2 separate regions of the Homo sapiens genome follow, and region 1 is linked to region 2. Evidence: promoter capture Hi-C in 16 types of primary human blood cells and fetal thymus (Javierre and others, 2016). All regions are on one chromosome and are shown on one strand. Each heading gives the region's core, a stretch centred on a gene start or on the middle of the fragment in contact. The rest is flanking DNA. Distances are from core to core; before and after follow the strand shown. Region 1 overlaps SMG1 (SMG1 nonsense mediated mRNA decay associated PI3K related kinase). Region 2 holds the start of ARL6IP1 (ARL6 interacting reticulophagy regulator 1).

Evidence for each region. The method cuts DNA at HindIII sites, captures the fragments that hold promoters and counts their contacts. A CHiCAGO score of 5 or more calls a contact.
Region 1: a fragment that was not itself captured here is called in contact with the fragment with the promoter of ARL6IP1 in region 2 in 1 of 17 cell types (activated CD4 T cells); the score reaches 6.5 in activated CD4 T cells.

What each region holds. Positions count from the first base shown.
Region 1 is chr16:18,834,714-18,841,093 of GRCh38, forward strand. SMG1 (SMG1 nonsense mediated mRNA decay associated PI3K related kinase) reads right to left here. Exons shown (of 63, transcript NM_015092.5): 42 at 4,985-5,233; 43 at 3,838-3,976; 44 at 3,644-3,753; 45 at 3,301-3,519; 46 at 2,540-2,730; 47 at 1,647-1,819; 48 at 1,220-1,499; 49 at 179-451. Among named protein-coding and RNA genes, the nearest start is that of ARL6IP1, 36 kb to the left of the region's middle. The HindIII fragment of the contact is 972 bases long and covers 1,680-2,651 here.
Region 2 is chr16:18,796,830-18,802,944 of GRCh38, forward strand. ARL6IP1 (ARL6 interacting reticulophagy regulator 1) reads right to left here and starts at 4,720. Exons shown (of 6, transcript NM_015161.3): 1 at 4,602-4,720; 2 at 1,872-2,005; 3 at 1,096-1,215. The coding sequence starts at 4,637. RefSeq lists enhancers at 4,224-4,343, 4,564-4,643, 5,024-5,263. The HindIII fragment of the contact is 8,806 bases long and covers 1-6,115 here.

The sequences.
Region 1 (6,380 bases), core at 916-3,415, 35 kb after region 2:
CCAGCCTCAGTGTCAAGAGTGAGACCCTGTCTCAAAACACAACCAAGATAACTAAAATCTGAAAAGCAAGTAAGCAGCTGTAACACTTGGCAAGACTAAGGAAAGTAAAAGAACATTTTAGGTTTGGGATTAAAAATAAGACACAGGAAATGGTCCAATATGAAGTTGGCTAACTTACCTTGTAAGGGTACAAAGGGCAGAAATAATAACACTTGCTAGACTCAAAGATCCTTCTTCTCCATTCTCATGAAGGAAAACTTTAATGCAACGTTCAATTTCTTTCAACTGATCTTCACAAACTGGCACAGTGACAGCTTCCTGTTTCAAGCGTTCCACTTGTCTAATAAGTCTGCTGTTGATGTCTGCTGCGTATCGCTGCAGGGTCATTTCAGTGGCAGTGATGAACTGACACACTGTTGGGGGTGGCTGGGGAGCATATTGCATTTCATATCTATAAAAATAAGGAAGAGGTGCTTGTTTATAACACAACCACCCCCAACATACAAAAGAATATTGCATTTAATCCTCAAACAAAACTTGAAGAGTAGAAATCATTATTTACATTTTACAGATAAAAATGTCTCAAGAGCTTAAGCAATTTCCTAAAAGGACTTGTTGATGACTGTGACAGAATCAACATTTGAGGCCAGGCACCACGGCTCATACCTGTAATCCTAGCACTTTGGGAGGCCAAGGCAGGAGGATCGCTTGAGCTCAGGAGTTCGAGACCAGCCTGGGCAACACGGCGAAACTCCATCTCTACAAAAAAATATAAAAATTGTTCAGGCGTGGTGACACACGCCCGTGGTCCCAGCTACTTGGGAGGCTGAAGTGGGAGGATCACCTGAGCCCAGGGAGGTCAAGGCTGCAGAATACAACTTTGCTTCCACTCCCAATAAGAAATACAATTGGCCAGGCGCAGTGGCTCACGCCTGTAATCCCAGAAATTTGGGAGGCCCAGGCAGGCAGATCACGTGGTCAGGAGTTCAAGACCAGCCTGGCCAATATAGTGAAACCCCGTCTGTACTAAAAAGACAAAAATTAGCCGGGCTTGGTGGTGTTGTAGTCCCAGCTACTCTGGAGGCTGAGGCAGAGGAATTGCTTGAACCTCAGAGACGGAGGTTGCAGTGAGCCAAGATCATGCCACCACACTCCAGCCTGGGTGACAGAACAAGACTCCGTCTCAAAAATAAAAGAAAATTAAGCACTATCAACTTACTTCCTATAGAGCTCTTGACAACGCTCTACTGTGGTGTTACAGATGAGCTCTTCCATCCAGGTCTTCCACTGTTCAATTCGATGTTTCTGAAATATGGCCTTCGGATACTGCAGGGCCACGGTTGCATAGTGATGCAGTTGCTCCAGACAGCCACGGAGCACGGAGCGCCTCTGCTGCAGGAGAGCACCAACCTCCCCCTCCAGCTGCTCGCACTGGCTAATCAAGTGGGCCTGACCAGCATTCTGCAGAAAGGCTGTTGCTGGCACGTAACTTGGAGGACCTTTTGGTAAAAGACATTATTAAACACAGTAAAACAGGGTCAAGTCAGCTGTCACTAAAAGCAAGCACAAACCAGGACCCCACACAAACACACATGACTATAAAACTCATAGTTTCACATGTGAATCTAAAATAAGTCAACCCATACCAAGGTCCATTTGTGTGCTTATCTCTTGAAGCAAGCTTGCAAGCTGTGTTGCTTCTAAATTATTGAATGCAGCCTGATAATGTGTTATCCATTGTTCAAATTCATTCAGCTTCACCTGGATTGCTTCCTGAACAGCTCTTTGCTGAGTCTGTAGTTGGGTGTGCTCAGAATACCTAATCAGGGGGACACAAACAAAATCAAAAGATTTATTGCTGTTTTCTTCCACATACTTTCCTACCCTGGAATGTGCTCACACATGGACTGTCTGGTACGCTCCTTGTTCACCTTGAGGGCCCTCCTCAAATGTCCCTTACTTCTCTGTTTTTCCTGACCCTGTGATTCCCTCAACCATGCTCATGACATTTTAATTAAAACTGCCACATCTGCCAAGTTTTAGGTTCCTTGAAGGTTAGAGACTGATGCTTGACAGATCTTTGTAATCTGAGAGCCTCACACAATGCTTGACACTTTCATATTCAACTACCCTTTTACTGAGCACCTGCTGTGTATAAGGTTCTTTCAGTTAATCATCTTATTTAATACTTAGTGAGGTAGATGAAGTAGCTGCCATTGTACAAATGAGTAAGGACTCAAGATACATAATGGTAATGAGAAAACCAAAACCCAGATTTTCTGATTCCAAGTTTTGTGTTCTAACCACTACACCCACCTATCTCCCATAATTAGTCATTCAAACATTTAAGTTAAATATAATAAAAGCAGACAATTTCAGTGAATTTTTGTTTACTAACACTTTGAAGTTGCAGTCACTGAGACAGCTTTTATCATTTATGTGATTTGTTACAATAATTCTAATCCATATTGATGTTTACATGAATATGAAAATTCTAATTAATGGCACATATTTAGAAGAATTCAACACTGTTTTAAACCTGTGTTGCAGAGTATGAGAAGGATGATCCACCCCTTCAGCTCCTTCTAGAAACTCTATTTCCTCCAGTAGTTTGCCCTGCAGTTTTTCCACATCTGTCAGTTGCTCTTGCAAGCTTAGGTATTCATCTAAGCTACCGTCCAACTTGGGAAGCACAACCAGCATCTCATCTCTATTCTTAAACCAGTTCACCTGTAAAAAGATATTACGATTAAGAAGACTCTTACAGGGCCAATTTTGAGACACAACAGTGTCAGAAGAACATTTTGCACATCCTACTTAAATCTCTACAAAACCCGAAAGGGGTGATGCGTTGCCTCCACTGTACAAAAACAACTAATGCGTTCAAGTTTACACAGGCATAAACTGACAGGCTCAATCTCATAATACCATGTATTAATAGTTGCCAATGTCACCCAGAACAAGACTGGCATCCCTGGCTACCAGATAGGGAAGGGAAGCTATCCAATTAAAGAACATTTACAGTCATCACTGGTAAACACATTTCAATAATTAAGAAATATAATTTTTTCAAATCATGAACCCACCTCTTAGGAGTGTGGAATGTAACTGTGCATGTTTGTGTGGAAGAATTACCTAATAAAAAGTTAACATCAAACTGCCATATTTAACTGCCATTTCAATATTATACATTAGTTTTGCCAAAAAAATTAGAGAAACAATTTGCCTCAACATTTTGATGAGCATGTTTACTCTATTAATAAAAAGAAGACAATGACTTATTCCGTCACTGGGCTTCACCTTAATCTCAGCTACTCTAGAAGAAAACAGGCTGCGGGTGATCTCTCGCTCCATCTCTCTCTTGCTCTGCTTGCTCTCGGCCTGCTGGCCACCTCCACCATAGACAGCACCAGCAAACCCAGCCTCGCCTCCTGCTGTCCAGTCCACCAGAGGGTCGTACACAAAGGCCTCCAGCAGCGTCAGCAGGGTCTCTCTGCCACGCCGCATAATGTGTAAAACCTGTTTTCAGGAGAGTTTTTAAAATAAGGTCTGCCACAAGTTTCATCACTAAAGTGTGGTTTTCATTCCACAGGTTTTGCTCATTTAACAAATACACTAAAAGGGAGAAGAGAAAACAGCATACCTGCTCACATGAAAGCCTAAATACACCTTCTACTCCAGTTACACCCAGTGCTGTTTCAATGTTTTGTGTCATTCGAAAAGGTACTTTCTCAGGAACTCTAAGGCTTTTACCTTGAAAAGACAAATCATTATATTTTTGCCCTTTCACCAAAAAACATTTGGCCCTCATAAATGTAAAGTCTACTTTTATATTACCTTTTTCAAAGCAAACATTGTAATCTATGTGAACAACTTCTCCAGTCGTCATATCTATAAGAACATTATCCAGATGTCTGTCTCCAAGGCCAATTATGTATCCAACCATAGACATGACTGCAGTAGATCTTGCATAAGACTAAAGGAAAGGAAATGGGGGCAGCAAGTGAAACACCATTAAGAAATTTCCCTCCAACATGGACGTGATACTATAAAATTTACAAAGCACCATTAACCTACTCCCTTATTTTAAAATAAATCAACAAATAAAAAGCATTCCTCAAGGTTGCTGCATGTGGTTATGCAGGCATACAACACTGTAGACCTGATTGGTCCTAGTTAATCAGCTATCAGGATGCTGGATTAAAAAAAACACAAACAAACAAACTTTTCTTCAGTCTTCCTAGTTTGTCCCTTTCTAAATTTTTTATTCTTTTTTTTGTTTTGTTTTGTTTGTATTTTTGGTTGAAACGGGGTTCAGTGTTGCCCAAACCAATGTTGGGCAGGCTGGTCTCAAACTCCCGACCTCAGATGATCCACCCACCACAGCTTCCAAAAGTGCTGGGATTACAGATGTGAGCCACTGTGCCTGACCTCTTTCTTTTTTTAAATTTAAATATTGATTTTATTTAAAAAAATTTTTTTCCTTCTAACTTTTAGGTTTAGAGGGACATGTGTAGGTCTTTACGTGAGTAAATTGTATGTCACTGGGGTTTGATGTACACATTATTCTGTCACCCAGGTAATGAACATAGTATCCAACAGGTATTTTTTCCTACCTCACCCTCCTCCTGCCCCCCACCCTCAAGTAGGCCCCAGTGTCTGTTGTTCCCTTCTTTGTGTCCATGTGTGCTCAATGTTTAGCTCCCACTTATAAGTGAGAACATGCGGTATTCAGTTTTCTGTTCCTGTGTTAATTTGCTTAGGATCTCCTTTTCATTTCCTCCATAACTCTTTCCCCATCCTGCCCTCGGACACAGTCATGTTCATGCCTTTATAACTGTAATATTAAACTCAAATATACGTCTCAAACTACCAAGTCTGGAGGGACAGAGGAAGGAAGGGAAGGAGGACAAACAAGATAGGCAAGAAGGTAGCAGGCAAAAGAAATACTACTACTGAGTATAGTCTAAAACAAAGCACATACCTGCGTAACTCTCCACCATTCATCAGGTGTTGTGCAAGATGACCAGAGCTCTTTGGCAAGGAGATTCGGGGGTGTGGCCTCCATTAACTCTTCCAATACTGCCTTCATTACATGAAGAGGCCAATCCCGACGGGACACATCCAGGCTAAGCCCAACTGTTTTCAAAGCAGGGCCAATTTTACTGTAATAAAGTTCACTAGGACGGGGTACAATTCCAGGATTCTGAGGAGTTTGGTAGGAATCTTGGGCCTTAAGAAAAAACAATTTTTTTAAAAAAGAAAAGATCAATTTTATATAAGGAAAAAGAGTGCCTTTTGTATGTAAAGTAGAATTTTTAAAAATGATTTTTCAGTAGCATTCTCTCATTACTCAACTAAATTTCATGTATTAATACAAAATAGCTAATTATTCTGGACTATGGATCTTTCTTATGATATATACCTTTTAATTAGGCCCATTCACTTTATTGAAAAATTGGTCTACTGTTTAATTTTCTTGAGGTTCAATTCAAAACTAAACACTCAAGTTACTTTCTTCTTTATAATACAGAATTCAGTTTTAAAATTATAGTTCATAATTTATGCACATACTTCATTCTTCACACACAACTTAATCGTTAATATAAAATTAACAACAGAAATTCAAAAACACATTACATGAGAATTTAGATAGCCCTTCTCTAATTACTATTTGAAATTACCCTTCAATAACAGTTCTGCAGTCTCCTGTGCCTAGGTTTAAAACTTGCCTCCTTTCAAACTCATGCTCTTTTCCCCTACCTACCCTTATCAAAAGCATTTTCTTTAGCTAGATGTGGGATCCTGAAGATAAGACTGTATAAAATTTATCTCAATATCCTAAGAGCTTAGTACTGTTCCTGGCATATATTAAGCACTCAGATACATGGCTAAAATATATTCTAAATTAAACTCCTAGTCTAAATCAAAGCATAAAATTCATAGATACAAAATAGGATGCCATGGTGATTAATTCCAAATTTAAAGTTGCTTCTTATTTACATACATAAAAGAACCTGGGTTTTAAAGCGATTATTTACAAATTTAATTTAAAAGCATGGTAAATCCAATAAAAACACTAAGATGTAAATTATCAAGTTACTGAGTGATGAACAACCACACATTCCCCCTCTCCAAATTTGTCTCAAGTTAAGATAAACCCAATGCCATCACTTTTGCCTCTTATATAACTATTTTTGGCTGGGTGTGGTGGCTCATGCCTGTAATCCCAACACTTAAGAAGGCTGAGGTGGGAGGAATACTTGAGCCCAGGAGTTCAAGGCTGCAATGAGCTATGATCATACCACTGCACTCTAGCCTGGACAACAGAGCAAGACCCTGTCCCTTTAAAAAACAAAACCAAAAAAAAGCAAACAACT
Region 2 (6,115 bases), core at 3,470-5,969:
TAAAATTCTTATATTTACAGAATTATTTTGCAATTTGCTATCCTCTGAGATACAAACAACCAAAGGCACAAGTAGAATACTAACCAAATAAAATAAACAGCCAAGGATAGAATAGCAGCTGAGAAGAAAATATCTATTCCAACTTCTATTTTGGCTGATTATTTGAATCAAAACTCAACATGCTAGAGAAAGTTAAAATACTTTTAATATGATCCTTATCCACTTAACTATATCTGAGGAGTTCATAAGCAACCTCATGGTATAAATAGGCCGGGCACGGTGGCTCACGCCTGTAATCTCAGCACTTTGGGAGGCCGAGGCGGGCGGATCACAAGGTCAGGAGATCGAGACCATCCTGGCTAACATGGTGAAACCCCGTCTCTACTAAAAATAAAAAAAAAAAAAATTAGCCAGGTGTGGTGGTGGGCACCTGTAGTCCCAGCTACTCGGGAGGCTGAGGCAAGAGAATGGCATGAACCTGGGAGGTGGAGCATGCAGTGAGCCAAGAGCGTACTGCACTCCAGCCTGGGCAACAGAGCGAGCCTCCATCTCAAAAAAAAAAAAAAAAAAGAGAATGGTATAAATAAAATCAGCAACCCATGTGTATACAGCTTGAACCTCTTCGGAAACACTTGGTATTCACTTTGTTAACTGCCATTCCACTGCCTCAGTGTCTCAGTATCTCAGCCTTAACACAAGATCAATCTTAAAAGTCAAAATATTTCACAGTACTTTACAGGGCCTGCCACAGTAGGCATTTAATAAATAATTGCTAAATGAATGTGAATGAAAATCTGCCAGTTTCCTTTTCTGTATTCATTCAAAAATAATTTGTGAAGTTATTATACTATCCTAAATATCAATGGAAATGTAAAAATGTATATGTGCATTTACCATAAAAGAACTATGGAGTACAGAAAATTCATAGTTTATATTCAAATCAGTTACAATATTCTTCACATAAAAGCAATAAATCTAATGCTTAGGTGTCTGATGGTTAGACAATTATCTCTGCTTATTTACAGCATACTAATCACAGCCACCAAGTTCAGTAACTACACAAAAATGAGACTGCCAAATCATTATGCTACCTACCATTTATTGGAGCCAAAAATTCTAGGCGCTAGAATGGGAACAAGGTAGTCAGCCAAGCACAAAAACATAACAAAACAGGAAACGCCGGACAGAACAGATGGATCTAGATAGTAGATAATCCTGTTAAAAAAATTAATAAAGGTTAGAAAAACATAGTCATTATTATTCCTAACTAAACATGTCTAACTTAACTATTCACTTAACTATTCACCGCCTCTCAGAGATATTTGCCATTTTTCTTCTAATTTTCTCACAAGTGGCTTTCCAGAGGCTTTGTGACATGCTGATATCATAGCTGCAGTGGTTAAGTATATATCAATGGACAAAAGCTCTTTGGAGTTCTCAGCACTTTTTTAAGAGTTTAGGGAGGTGGGGGACTAGGGGAGGGATAGCATTAGGAGAAATACCTAATGTAGATGAAGGGTTGATGGGTGCAGCAAACCACCATGGCACATGTATATATACCTATGTAACAAACCTGTACATTCTACACATGTTTCCCAGAACTTAAAGTATAATAACAAAAAAAGAGTTTAAGTGTCTGGAGGACAAAAAGTTTGCGAGTCACTGATTTACTCAAGTGCTTTAGGTTACCAAGTTTACAGAAGTACTACAAATTCTGGAAACTAGAAGTGCTTATGAGAAACATTCTTTATGGGTTCTTTATGGGTTATATATTACAGAAGACTTAAGGCACTCCCACAAACAGAAGCTATATATTAAAAAGTCTTTATTAATAAGAAGCACAACCCATAGTAATCTAATAGCTCACTTACAGAAACACCAAAGAAACCACACCCATGATGGCAGGTGGAAACCAGGCTCTTTCCCATCGGAGGACTTTATCAGCCATCAGCATCACTTCTCCCCATCCTTGCAGCTGTTCTTCCAGACTTGCAGTCTCTGCAGCCTAAATACCACCGACATTTAAAGTGATCATTTTACCACTCTCAACATTTTTGTGGTTCATAGACTTCAATTATTTTAAAGCTCCAAATACAAAAAATAACCTCTTAACCAAATTGCCAATTTTAAACTAGTTGGTTTCTGAAAAACTGCAATTTCAAAGATGAAAATACAATGGGTTTTTTTGTTTTTTGTGTTTTTTTTTTTGAGACGGAGTCTCGCTCTGTCACCCAGGCTGGAGTGCAGTGGGGAGATCTCGGCTCACTGCAGCCTCCGCCTCCTGGGTTCAAGCGATTCTCCTACCTCATACTCCTGAGTAGTTGGGACTATAGGCGCCCGCCACCACGCCCGACTAATTTTTTGTAGAGACAGGGTTTCACCATGTTGGCCAGGCTGGTCTCAAACTCTGGACCTCAAGTGATCCACTCACCTCGTCTTCCCAAAGTGCTGGGATTACAGGTGTGAGCCACCAGGCCCAGCCTAAATATCCTTTAATGGTCACTTTTCTAGTCCAAGCACTGGGCTATTCTTTATATACATGATGTAACTTAATCCTTACAGAGAGCCACAAGGTAGGGATAATTAGACTCAATTTACAATTAAAGAAAGTGAGCTCAAAATGGTTTACTTTCTCAAAGTCATGCGGGGAATCGTGGCAGTGCCCAGAGTATTAATAAAATGAAATAACTTTTTTTAAGTTTGTTTATTTCAGATGGTTAGAATTGATCCGTTGTTTTTGTCATCTTATTGATTTAAACCCTTCTAAATCCATTAGGAAAGACTTTCCCTGAATAGCATTCAATTTCTAAAATAGCTCTTTGTGTAATGGAATCACTCAGATGTTGACATTCATTGGACAATTAAGGAAAACTACTTTCACCAAATTAAGGTGGCATTTTACGGTCAATATACCTCCTCAATACAGTGTTTCTTACCACTCAGGATGTCATTTTGATTATACTTCAAATTTCTCTGACTCTGAACAGCCGAAAGTGGGCCTCTAGGATGAGCTAATGTGGCAAAAGCCCTTAAAGCTGGTTTTGGTAAAGGAAGAAAAATTTAGAATAAGAAACTCAAGTGTCTCTATGTTATCAGGCTGGATGCAGTGGATCACGCCTGTAAACCCAGCACTTGGCGGGTCGGGGGGGATTGCTTGAGCCCAGGAGATCGGGACCAGCCTGGGCTGAGACCTTGTCTCTTTGTAAAAGTCATTCACTGGAAATCATGCAAATGACAGAACAAGGCACTTAATCTTAACAAAGACGCTCGCTATCTGTGCCACGCTGAGCACTAGTGTGATCTCAATATTTCTGACTTTATATTCCATGCTTAATACTAGTGAAAGAGACTACTATGTGTGGGCACTCTGCTGAGCATTCATATTTATACTTCAATTAATCTTCCTAACAACCCTTAAAAAAAGGTGTTATTACTGTCCCCATTTTACCAAGGAGGAAACAGATACAGAGGTTAACTGATCTGCATCCAAGAAATCCACGACCAAAGGCGTTGCTTTCCTTAGAGTTATATTGCTCTGCTGGAAGGAGAGTTGGGAAGCAGGAGCTCTAGCCCAGGATTTGTCATTTCAACAGGGCTTGAGCTACTTCTCTGTGCTTCAATTAATCCTCTTAAAAAGATCCACGCTGAGAACTAACTATGCTAGAAGGAGCGTGTGTTTAAAGGAACAAACCATGCATTTCTAAAAGCAAATATAAAATCACGCACAATCAAAACTGCCCTGAAGTCACGTCATTGGCCAGCGTCTGGGGTCTTGGAAGTTCAAAAGCCCCTAAGTAAATTCTTTGGTTCCGTTTTTCATTGCTGGTATGTGACCTACAGTCACCAGGGAAGGGCAACTGAGAATATGCAAGGATATTTCTCTTGTTTTTTGCCCACAAGGTGCGCTTAAATTCATAACAAATAAAAATGTGTCCGCCTATGATACCATCTCACTGCAGTTCCTTCGGATCCCTGCTTATTACTCTAAAGCTGTTTCCAGTAGTCCTGTGACCCCACCCCCGCCAGACTTCCAAATTCCAGACAAACGCCAAGACATCCCATTGTCTGTTCAGCTGGACCCCGCTCCCGGTTCCCCACGGTGAGCTCGCAGCCTCCCTGTCGTTTTAAGTTGTACCAGCTCTAAGATAAATTCTGGGCAGTAGCCCTTTGACCCTCCACCCTTGTCCAAGTTTTAGGGGGAAAAGAAGGCAGGCACATCCAGGTTAAGATCAAAGACGGGGAAAGCCGAATACGGCTGGGGCCTGAGCCGCGAAAGCGCTGGACAGGCCCCAGGAGGCCTTCTGCCCCCACCCGCACCCCAGGCTAGTGTCGCAGCCCCTCTGCCTCCCACTTCCTCCTCGACTCCTACTCGCGGTGATGAATCACGCGCCCTCCTCGCCCCGTCGCGCACCGTCCCCAGGAAAGGTAAGGGTTCGACACCCAGGAGTCACCCAAGAAGCCCGAGGGCCAGGCATCGTCGCCTGCCCAGGGAGAGAAGGGCCGGGCCCGCGGCGGGTGACAGGGACGAGGCCGCGGTGTTTGAGCCCACGGACGTCTGGAGGCCTCGCTCGGCTCCCGGGGGACAGGCAGCCAGGACTCACCAGCAGGTTGGTGCTGCGATTATCTCCCTCCGCCATCGTCTCGGGGATGCAGTCTCTACAAGCGCAGGCCACCTCCCCAACGAGTCCTCCAACCGAAACCCGCACACCAACCACAACCCGAGGGAACGCCCCGCAGGCTGCTTATATGGGTCGGCCGCCCTTCCCGACGGCCCCCGCGACGCTCGCTCCTCATTGGACAGACCGAGCTTACGCCTCAAGGAAGCCGGGCCAACCGAAGCTCAGCGCATGGCTTGAAATCGAGGTCAAAGGAGACAGAGGCAGCGCCGGGCCGAGGGGGAGGGGACACGGAGTGCCCAATCAGCGCCCAGGGACTGCGCGACGCCCCGCCCAGCGCTGTGGGAAGCGGTTCAACCGCCTCTGCAGGGGGCGCTGTCCCTCAGTGGTTCTCCGGCTCTTGCCGCTGCGGTGGCTTTGGGTCCCTCTTCGTCTGGCTTTCGCAGCCGAGGAGACTCTCTGGAAAATGGGCTACTCGAAGAGAGATGCTCCGTTGCCTCAGGCGGAGGGCGGGGACGCCGGGCCTGCGACACTTCATCTTTTCCTGGCCCCGAGGTGGCTGGGATCCGTTCCACCTTCGGCCCAGTTCCCCAGCCAGGCCCCTGAGCCGTTTAGCCCGGATTTGCGACCCGTGAGGTTTTGAGGACAAGTGAAAAGAGCTCTTTGTGTGGATTTTGCTGCAATGTTTCTCTCCTACCCAGTAGGAATGAGGCCTTAGCTTGCGCGGAAAAACCCAGGCCTGGTTTGAGAACGTGTGAAAATGCACCGCCTTCTAAGTGGCTTTATTATACGTGGATGTTTAAGTTACTTAAACTACAAGCTCCCTCTCCAAAAGGATTCTTTTTTTTTTTTTCTTTTTTTTTGAGACGGAGTCTCGCTATGTTGCCCAGCCTGGAGTGCAGTGGCGCGATCTTGCTCACTGCAAGCTCTGCCTCCCGGGTTCACGCCATTGTCCTGCCTCAGCCTTCCAAGTAGCTGGGACTACAGGCGTCCGCCAACACGCCTGGCTAATTTTTTGTATTTTTAGTAGAGACGTAGTTTCACCGTGTTAGGATGGTCTCGATCTCCTGACCTCGTGATCCGCCCGCCTCGGCCTCCCAAAGTGCTAGGATTACAGGCGTGAGCCACCGCGCCCGGCCAGAATTGTTTGTTTGTTTGTTTGAGACGAAGGAGTCTCGCGCTCCGTGGCCCCGGCTGAAGTGCAGTGGCGCGATCTCTGCTCACTGTAACCTCCATCTCCCGGGTTCAAGTGATCCTGGCGCGTCAGCCTCCCGAGTAGCTGGAATTACAGACGCCCGTCACTACGCCCGGCTAATTTTTGTATTTTAATAGAGACGGGGTTTCGCTATTTTGGCCAGGGTGGTCTGGACCTCCTGACCTCAAGATATCCGCCCGCCTTAGCCTGCCAAAGTGCTGGGATTACAGGCGTGAGCTACCGCGCCCGGCCAAAAGGATAGTTCTTGACACGACCTTTCTTCCATTAGAGGTCAAGCTAAGAA